Linked DNA regions of Homo sapiens: regions 1 and 2 are each linked to region 3. Evidence: promoter capture Hi-C in 16 types of primary human blood cells and fetal thymus (Javierre and others, 2016). All regions are on one chromosome and are shown on one strand. Each heading gives the region's core, a stretch centred on a gene start or on the middle of the fragment in contact. The rest is flanking DNA. Distances are from core to core; before and after follow the strand shown. Region 1 overlaps IZUMO2 (IZUMO family member 2). Region 2 overlaps MYH14 (myosin heavy chain 14). Region 3 holds the start of GPR32 (G protein-coupled receptor 32).

What was found. Contacts are between HindIII fragments. The CHiCAGO score rates a contact against its expected background, and 5 or more counts as called.
Region 1: a fragment that was not itself captured here is called in contact with the fragment with the promoter of GPR32 in region 3 in 1 of 17 cell types (total B cells); the score reaches 5.1 in total B cells.
Region 2: a contact is called between a fragment that was not itself captured here and the fragment with the promoter of GPR32 in region 3, in 8 of 17 cell types (total B cells, naive B cells, activated CD4 T cells and 5 more). The highest score is 12.2, in total B cells.

What each region holds. Positions count from the first base shown.
Region 1 is chr19:50,151,988-50,154,687 of GRCh38, reverse strand. IZUMO2 (IZUMO family member 2) reads left to right here. Exons shown (of 7, transcript NM_152358.3): 6 at 1-88; 7 at 2,037-2,140. The coding sequence ends at 2,079. Among named protein-coding and RNA genes, the nearest start is that of IZUMO2, 9.9 kb to the left of the region's middle. The HindIII fragment of the contact is 1,357 bases long and covers 637-1,993 here.
Region 2 is chr19:50,245,775-50,248,814 of GRCh38, reverse strand. MYH14 (myosin heavy chain 14) reads right to left here. Exons shown (of 43, transcript NM_001145809.2): 12 at 1,693-1,811. Among named protein-coding and RNA genes, the nearest start is that of MYH14, 44 kb to the right of the region's middle. The HindIII fragment of the contact is 6,027 bases long and covers 1-3,040 here.
Region 3 is chr19:50,769,031-50,771,730 of GRCh38, reverse strand. It overlaps GPR32 (G protein-coupled receptor 32), which reads right to left and starts at 1,267. Exons shown (of 1, transcript NM_001506.2): 1 at 1-1,267. The coding sequence starts at 1,130. The coding sequence ends at 60. The HindIII fragment of the contact is 17,473 bases long and covers 1-2,700 here.

The DNA.
Region 1 (2,700 bases), core at 66-2,565, 620 kb after region 3:
ACAGCAAATACCCGAGGAACCAGGCGCTGTTGGGCATCCTCATTTCTGTGTCTCTGGCTGTCTTTGTCTTCGTGGTCATCGTGGTCTCGTGAGTCATCCTTGCCCCCTCCTCAGTCCCCCGTGGAACCCACTGGGCCCCTCAAAAATGGCGACTCCCCTGGATGGGTCACTGTGTACTTTGGGAGTCTCCTCTTCAGTCACTTTAGTCTCTGTCTCTCTTTTTCTCTCTGTCTCTCTCCTCCCTCTTCTCCCTCCCGCCCCCTGCCCCGTACCTTTCTCTCATCTTATTTCTGTCTTTCTTCCTCATTTTCCTTTTTCTCCACCTCTGGGCCACATTACAACTTTCCCGGGTCCTCAGCACTTTTGCCTTTGTGGGCCTCTTCTTACATTAAAAAAAAAAAAAAAAAAAAAAAAAAAAAAAAACGCTAAAAGTTATATTTGGTGGATGCATTGGTAGAAAGACAAATATCATCCAAGTTGGCTTCATTATGTTCTATGCATCATCATAATTACTGTTGTTATATTCATTTATCTTCTTCTGGCTTTTAAAGATACTACAGTGAAAACATTTCCATGGACCCCAGGCCCTGTGCCTAGGGAGGAAGTGGCCCTCACCTTCCTCTCCCCCTCTAAGCTTATCTCGCTGCCTCTTTATGCTTGTGCCCTCCCCCTCCCCCCCAGCCCCTTCTCCGGCCCCTCTCTTCCCCTCTCCGTCTCAATTTCTCTCTCTCTCTCTCTGCCTCCTCCAAGTACCCAATTAATCTCCTTTCCCTAACGCCTCAGTTTCTTCATATGCAAAAAGGGAGTAATGCCATCACCTCCCACTGGCGGGGGTGGTGATAACTGAATCAGTGAACGCTCTTTTTTTTTTTTTTCTTGAGATGGAGTCTCGCTCTGTGGCCCAAGCTGGAGTGCAATGGCGCGATCTTGCGACCTTGGCTCACTGCAACCGCTGCCTCTCAGGTTCAAGCGATTCTTCTGCCTCAGCCTCCTGAGTAGCTGGGACTACAGGTGCCCACCACCAAGCCTGGCTAATTGTTATATTTTCATTAGAGACGGGGTTTCGCCATGTTGGCCAGGCTGGTCTCAAACTCCTGACTTCAGGTGATCCACCTGCCTCATCCTCCCAAAGTGCTGGGATTACAGTCATGAGTCACCGCGCCTGGCCAGTGAACGCTGTTAATAACACTTAGCGCATGGGGAGTGCTCCGTGCAGGCTACCTCTCACTGTGAACTTGCTCAGCCTCTCTTCCAACTCTCTCTCCTCATTTCTCTGTCTCCCTGTGTATTCATTTCCTATTGCTGCTGTAACATCACCACAAATTGGGTGACTTAAAGCAAAAGAAATGTATTCTCTGGGTTCTGAAAGCAGAAGTCTGAAATCAAGAGGTTGGCAAAGTTGGTTCCTTCCAGAGCCTCTGAGAGTGAATCCACCCCATGCCTGTGTCCTAGCTGCTGGTGGCTGCTGGCATTCCTTAGCTCCCTTCTAATCCCTTCCTCTGTCTTCACATGGTTTTGTTTTCTGTGTGTCCATCTCAAATCTCCCTCTCCTTTCTCTTCTAAGGACACCTGTCTTTAGATGTAGGGCCCATCCTAAATCTCATGTCACCTTAACTTAATTACATCTGCAAAGACCGTGTTTCCAATTAAGGTCACATTCCCAGGTCCTAGGAGTTGGGACTTGGATATATCTTTGGGGTGGGGGACACGCTGTAACCCACTATACCTGCTTCCACTATACCCTGTCTCTACCTTATCTCTCTCCATTTCTGCCTGTGTCTCCTCTTGTCTTTTTGGACTCTTTCTGTTCCCACATTTGACCATCACCCCTGGTCCCAGCTCTTCTCTCCTCTCTCCTCACCAACTCCGGTTGGCAGAGAACCCTGAAAATCTGCCCAGATGCCCATGACGTCACTGGATGAGCCAAATCAGGCCAAAGATTGTAGGAAAGTTATGGGGAGGGAAGTTATGGGTCTCTTGATCTGGAAAAGCTTGAAATTCTCATTCTAATCTACAGGCTTTTTCTCTCTGACCAGGGCTTGTACATACAGACAAAACCGAAAACTCCTGCTGCAGTAGGACGGTGGTTTGGGGGTAAGGAGAAAGGAAAATAAATTTAATAAAATTGGTGACAAATCCATCAATGTCTCTGTCCATTTCCTGGGGACCCTCCCCCTAGTTGGTGTCCAACTCTGTTTCTCTACCTGACTGGGTGCTCCTCAAAGGCTGGGACCAGATCCCACTCATCTGTAGACACCCATTATCCTAATTCAAGGTAGAAGTGACTTGGACCTTCAAAAAGGATGGACAGCATATTGTAAGGGTTTGAAGTGACAACCACTTATCCTCTGGGAAGGAAATGCATCCGAAAGGACATGACTCAGTGCAACCCTCGAGGATGGTTAAATAGAGGAAGAGCAGTGGTCAATGTGGAAGGTACAGGTTTTCTTCTCTATCTGAACTACAATTCTTCACCCTCTGTGCACCTGAATACTAGATTCGAATACATTTTCTTTCTTTTTCTTTTCTTTTTTTTTTTTTTTTTTGAGACAGAGTCCTGCTCTGCCACCCAGGTTGGAGTGCAGTGCCATGATCTCAGCTCACTGCTGCCTCCCGGTTTCAAGCGATTCTCCTGCCTCAGCCTCCTAAGTAGCTGGGATTACAGGTGTGCGCCACCATGCCCAGCTAATTTTTTTTTTT
Region 2 (3,040 bases), core at 399-2,898, 520 kb after region 3:
AGTCCTACTGCGCACCAGGTACTACATGACGGGCTCGGATGTGTTAGCCCTTGAATCCTTCCCTCACCCCCTCAAAGCAGTTTCTACCGCACAGCGGTTAAGAGCGTGGACTCTGGAGCCGGACAACTTGGGTTTGAATCCCAGCTCTGCCACTTAGGGGCTGTGTGATTTCAGGCATGTGAATAAACCTCTCTGTGCCTCAGTTTTCTCCTCTGTAAAATGGGAACTAACAACAGTACCCCAGCTGAGATTGAACCCGGGTCAGTGTGGCTCCCAGACTCCTCATCTCCCCCACGGGGTCTTCATCCAGGTACCTCACTGCCCAGCCTGGGGCCAGCAGAGGCCTCTGCCCAAAAGCTGGATTCTGAAACCCTCCCTGGCCTGTGGTCGCTCCACTCCACCCTCCCTGCTCATGGTGTGAGCTCCCACGATTGCCAAGACTCTGGATGCAGCCTCCTTAGGTCTCCCCGCCTCTACCTGCATCCCTGAACCCAATTCTCCATGCAGCAGCCAAGGGGATCTTTCTATGAAAGACAAACTGAATCAAGTCACTCCCTGGCTTAAAACCTCAATGGCCTCCTATGTAGTTTGAATAAAACTCACCTCCTTACTGTGGCCCCTAAGACCCTGCATGATCTGCCCCTTGCTGACATTTCTGACTGTGGATTCACCCACCCTCTCTCCCTTGCTCTTCAGCCTCACTGACCTGACCTCCTTCAATTTTCTTTTTTTCTTTTCTTTTTTTTTTTTTTTTTGAGACAGAGTCTCGCTCTGTCACCCAGGCTGAAGTGCAGTGGCGTGCTCTCAGCTCACTGCAACCTCTGCCTCCTAGGTTCAAGTGATCCTCGTGTCTCAGCCTCCCAAGTAGCTGGGACTACAGGCGTGTGCCACATACCCAGCTAATTTTTGTATTTTAGTAGAGACGGAGATTCACCATGTTGCCCAGGCTGATCTTGAACTCCTGAGCTCAATCTGTCCGCCTCAGCCTCCCAAAGAGCTGGGATTACAGGCATGAGCCCCCACACCCGGCCTCACTGACCTGCTTAATGTTCCCAACTCCCCAAGCCTGCTCCACCCCCAGGGCCTTTACACTTGCGGTTCCGTCTGCCTCGAACCATCTAGGTCTCATCTCGAATGTTTCATCCTTAGAGCTTCCTTAGAGAGGACTTTCCTGACCAACAAAACCTCCCCTTCACAGGTGCTCTCACCATCTAAAAGCATCCTGGGTTTTTGTTTTTTGTTTTTCTAGGATACCATGTTGCATTTACATCCTGTTTTTTTAAATTATTATTAAATTTTTTAATTTTTTTAGAGACAGAGTCTCAGTCTGTCACCCAGGCTGGAGTGCAGTGGCGCAATTACAGCTCGCTGCAGCCTCAAACTCCCGGGCTCAAGCAATCCTCCCACCTTGGCCTCCCAAAGTGCTGGGATTACAGGTGTGAGCCACCACTCCCAGACACATCCTGTTGAACTTTTATTATCCATTTCCTTACTATAACTTGAGGTCCCTGAGGGCCTGGTTATTTGTTTCGATGACTGCTTTTACGCCTGGCACCTAGACCAGGATCGGTAACGGAGCGGGCACTCAGCAAAAGTCTGTTGAGTGGTGGGAAAAACAGCATACACTGTTTAAAGACCCAGGGCCGGGGTGCGCGGCTCTTTCTGTGCCTGCCCACCGCCAGCCCCGCCTACCTGTTCCTTAGTCTGGGCTTTCTGCACATAGTCTCGGCCAACTTTGATGCGAGGGGTGAGCAAGGCTCGGGAGAAATCCGTCACCCCCAGTCCCAAGAGGCGGCAGAGCTTCTGTGCAGCTGAGGGCGAGAGGCACCAAGATTCCATCAGCACTGGGAAGAGGTGCTTGCTGCCCAGCAAGGGAGAGGGTACCGTTTCCCACACTGTTGGGGGAGCAGAAGACGGGCCCCGCCTTTCCCAGGAGAGGCATTACGAGTCCCAAAAGTGTGTACATTCTCTGCCCAACTATTTTTTTTCCAGGAACCAGCACTGGCAAAATAACCCTGCATGTGAGCAAAGACCGTGCCACAAGGATGTTCAGCGCAGTGTTGTTTATAATCGGAGAAAGCTAGGAAACAACCTCAGTGCCCAAGAAGCGGGAATTGGTTAGATGGGTCGGGCTTCATTCATTTGAAAGAATGTTCTGATGGTTTTTTTGTTTGTTTTGTTTTGTTTTGTTTGAGACAGAGTTTGGCTCTTATCACCCAGACTGGAGTGCAGTGATGCAATCTCAGCTCACTACAACCTCCGCCTCCCTGGTTCAAGTGATTCTCCTGCCTCAGCTCCTGAGTAGCTGGGATTACAGGTGCCTGGCCCATTTGAAAGAATGTTCTGCAGTCACTAAAAGCTACACTGGAGGCGGGGCACGGTGGCTCACGCCCGTAATCCCAGGGAGGCCCTTCGGGAGGCCAAGGTGGGCGGATCACCTGAGGTCAGGAGTTTGAGACCAACCTGGCCAACATGGTGAAACCCCGTCTGTACTAAAAATACAAAAATTAGCCCGACATGGTGGTGCGTGCCTGTAATCCCAGATACTTGGGAGGCTGAGGCAGGGAGAATCGCTTGAACCCAGGAGGTAGAGGTTGCAGTGAGCTGAGATGGTGCCACTGCACTCCAGTCTGGGCGAGACTTCATTTAAAAGAGGAAAGATGGAAGGAAGGAAGGAAGGAGGGAAGGAAGGAAGGAAGGAAGAAAGGAAGGGAGGGAGGGAGGGAGGGGGGGAATCCCAGTAGAGTTCTATCTAAAAGAAGGAAGGAGGGAGGGCAGGAGGAAGGGAGGGAGGGAGCGAGGGAATCCCAGTACAGTTCTATCTAAAAGAAGGAAGGAAGGAGGGAGGGAAGGAGGGAGGGAGGGAGGGAGGGAGGGAGGGAAGGGATCCCAGTAGAGTTTCTTGTGAATAACCTGAAAAGTTATCCCGAAAGCATTCAGGGGAAAAAAAAGCAGGTTTCAAAACAGTTTGCAGGGTCTGACTCCAGTTTTGTAAAACAAATGAGTAAATGTGTGTGCACGGCACACCTGCTGGGTGCCT
Region 3 (2,700 bases), core at 18-2,517:
GTAAGAGGCCACAAGCAAACTAAGAAGGACGGCTTCCAGCTTCCAGCTGAAGTCTTCCATCATTCCCGGGGGGCGTTGCCACGGGGACAGGATGACAGAAACTCCTCCTCTCCAAACGCCCTCGCCAGGGCAGAAGTCAAAGACTGGAAAAACTTTTCTTGGAAATCTCTGCCAACGAAGACGTAGAGGAAGGGGTTGAGGCTGCTGTTGACACAGCCCAAGGCAAAGCTAGCCTGGAGGATGAGCAGCATCCGGGGGTGGTAGATTTCCTTGAGCATCACCCGTCGCCACAGATGGACCAACAGCACCACGTTAAACGGGGACCAGAAGATAAAGAAAGCGCTCACCAGCACCAGCAGCAGCCTCTTGGGCCGGTTGGCATGGACCCAGCCCTCCCGCAAGAGCTTGGCCCGGATGAGGTGGGCGCAGGTGCCTATGATTGCTAAGGGCCCCAGGAAGCCCAGCAGGAAGTGGCCAATGGTCCCTATAATGTGTCCCTCCACGACCCCTTCAATCCAAATCTGGGCAGTCTCATTGTCAGAGTTGAACGCCAAGTAGCAGTGCGTACAGCCATTCCATTTTCTGGTTGTCCGGAATTTCAGGTGCGCAGAGCACAAGGCGGCGGCCAGGAGCCACACCCCAAAGGCCAGCCAGCTCGCCCGCTGCACAGTGCGGTGGTTCAGGGCCCAGACGGGGTAGAGGACAGAGATGCAACGGTCCACAGAGATGAAGACAAGGAGGCAGTTACTGGCAAAGTAGCTGAGGAACACAAAGGTGATGTAGAGTTTGCAGGCCCACTCTCCGAGGAGCCACTGCCTGGAGACAATATAGTACATGGCAATGGGCAGAGACAGTGAGAGCATGAAATCGGCAAGGGCCAGGTGGAAGAAGCAGACGGTGGAGACCGTGCGTGCCATACGGAAGACAGTCATCCACAGCACCAGCCCATTGCCCAGCACTCCGACGACAATGGACGCAGACAGGATAACCACAGTCAGTGGGCGGAGGGACCCCACCTCCTCAGACAGGCATCCGGAAGAGTTCATCTTCCTGGAACAAGAGCGATCACGTGTCAGGACCCCAGGTTGCCTGTCACTGCAGCCTCTGGTCCCCTCCGAGACCCCATTCATGATTTCTCCATTCCATAATTTTTATGGAATGCTTATTATTATTATTCTTTTAGAGACAGCGTCATGCTCTGTCACCCAGGCTGGAGTGCAAAGGTACAATCACAGATCACTGCAGCCTCCACCTCCTAGGCTCAAGAGATCCTCCCCCCTCAGCCTCCTGGAGTAGCTGGGACTACAGGCACTTACCACCATGCCTGGCTAATTTTTTTACCTTTTTTTTTTTTTTTTTTTTTTGACACAGAGTCTTGCTCTCTCTGTCACCCAGGCTGTAGTGCAATGGTATGATCTCGGCTCACTGCAACCTCCACCTCCAAGGTTCAAGCAATTTTCCTGCCTCAGCCTCCCAAGTAGCTGGAACTACAGGCACATGCCACCACACCTGGCTAATTTTTCTGTTTTTAGTAGAGACAGGGTTTTACCATGTTGGCCAGGCTGGTCTTGAACTACTGACCTCGTGACCCGTCCACCAGCCTCCCAAAGTGCTGGGATTATAGGTGTGAGCCACTCTGCCAGGCCTTAAATTCTTTTTTGTAGAGATGGGGTTTTGCTGTGTTGCCCAGGCTGGTCTTGAACTCCTGGCTTCAAGTGATCCTCCCACCTCAGCCTCCCAAAGTGCTGGGATTACAAGTGTGAGCCATTGAGCCCAGCCTGAATGCTTTTTATGACACAATAATATTGTTCTTTTTTTTTTTTTTTTTTTGAGACAGAGTCTCCTTATGTCACCCAGGCTGCAGTGCAATGGCACGATCTCGGCTCACTGGACACTATAATATTGTTCTAAGTACTGGACATAACTCGTGTAACAAAACAAGCCCTCATGGAACTTACATCCCAGTGAGAGATGTCAGGTGTAATACATATAATAAATTTACTTCATGATATACTGCTTTAGAAGACTACAAGTGTTATGGAAAAATAATAAATGAAATGGAGGGGCCAGGTGTGGTGGCTCATGCTTGTAATCACAACACTTTGGGAGGCTGAGGCAGAAGGATTGCTTGAAGCCAGGAGTTCCAAACCAAGGTGGGCAACATAGTGAGACCGTCTCTACAAAAAATAAATAATTACAAGTTTTTGTGGCCATGCACAGTGGCTCACGCCTGTAATCCCAGCACTTTGGGAGGCTGAGGTAGGCGGATCACCTGAGGTCAGGAGTTCGAGATCAGCCTGCCCAGCATGGCGAAACCCCGTCTCTACTAAAAATACAAAAAACATTAGCTGGGTGTGGTGGCAGCCACCTGTAATCCCAGCTACTCATGAGGCTGAAGAATCACTTAAACTTGGGAGGCGGAGGTTGCAGTGAATCAAGATCGCGCCACTGCACTCCAGCCTGGGTAACGAGAGCGAAACTCCGTCTCAAAAAAATAAAAATAAAATAAAATTTAAAAATTAGCCGTGAGATGGGCGTAGTGGCTCATTCCTGTAATCCCAGCACTTTGGGAGGCTGAGGCTGGTGGATCACTTAAGTTCAGGAGTTCGAGACCAGCCTGGCCAACATGGCAAAAGCCTGTCTCTACTAAAAATACAAAAATTAGCCAGGCTTGGTGGTGCGTGCCTGTAATCCCAGCTA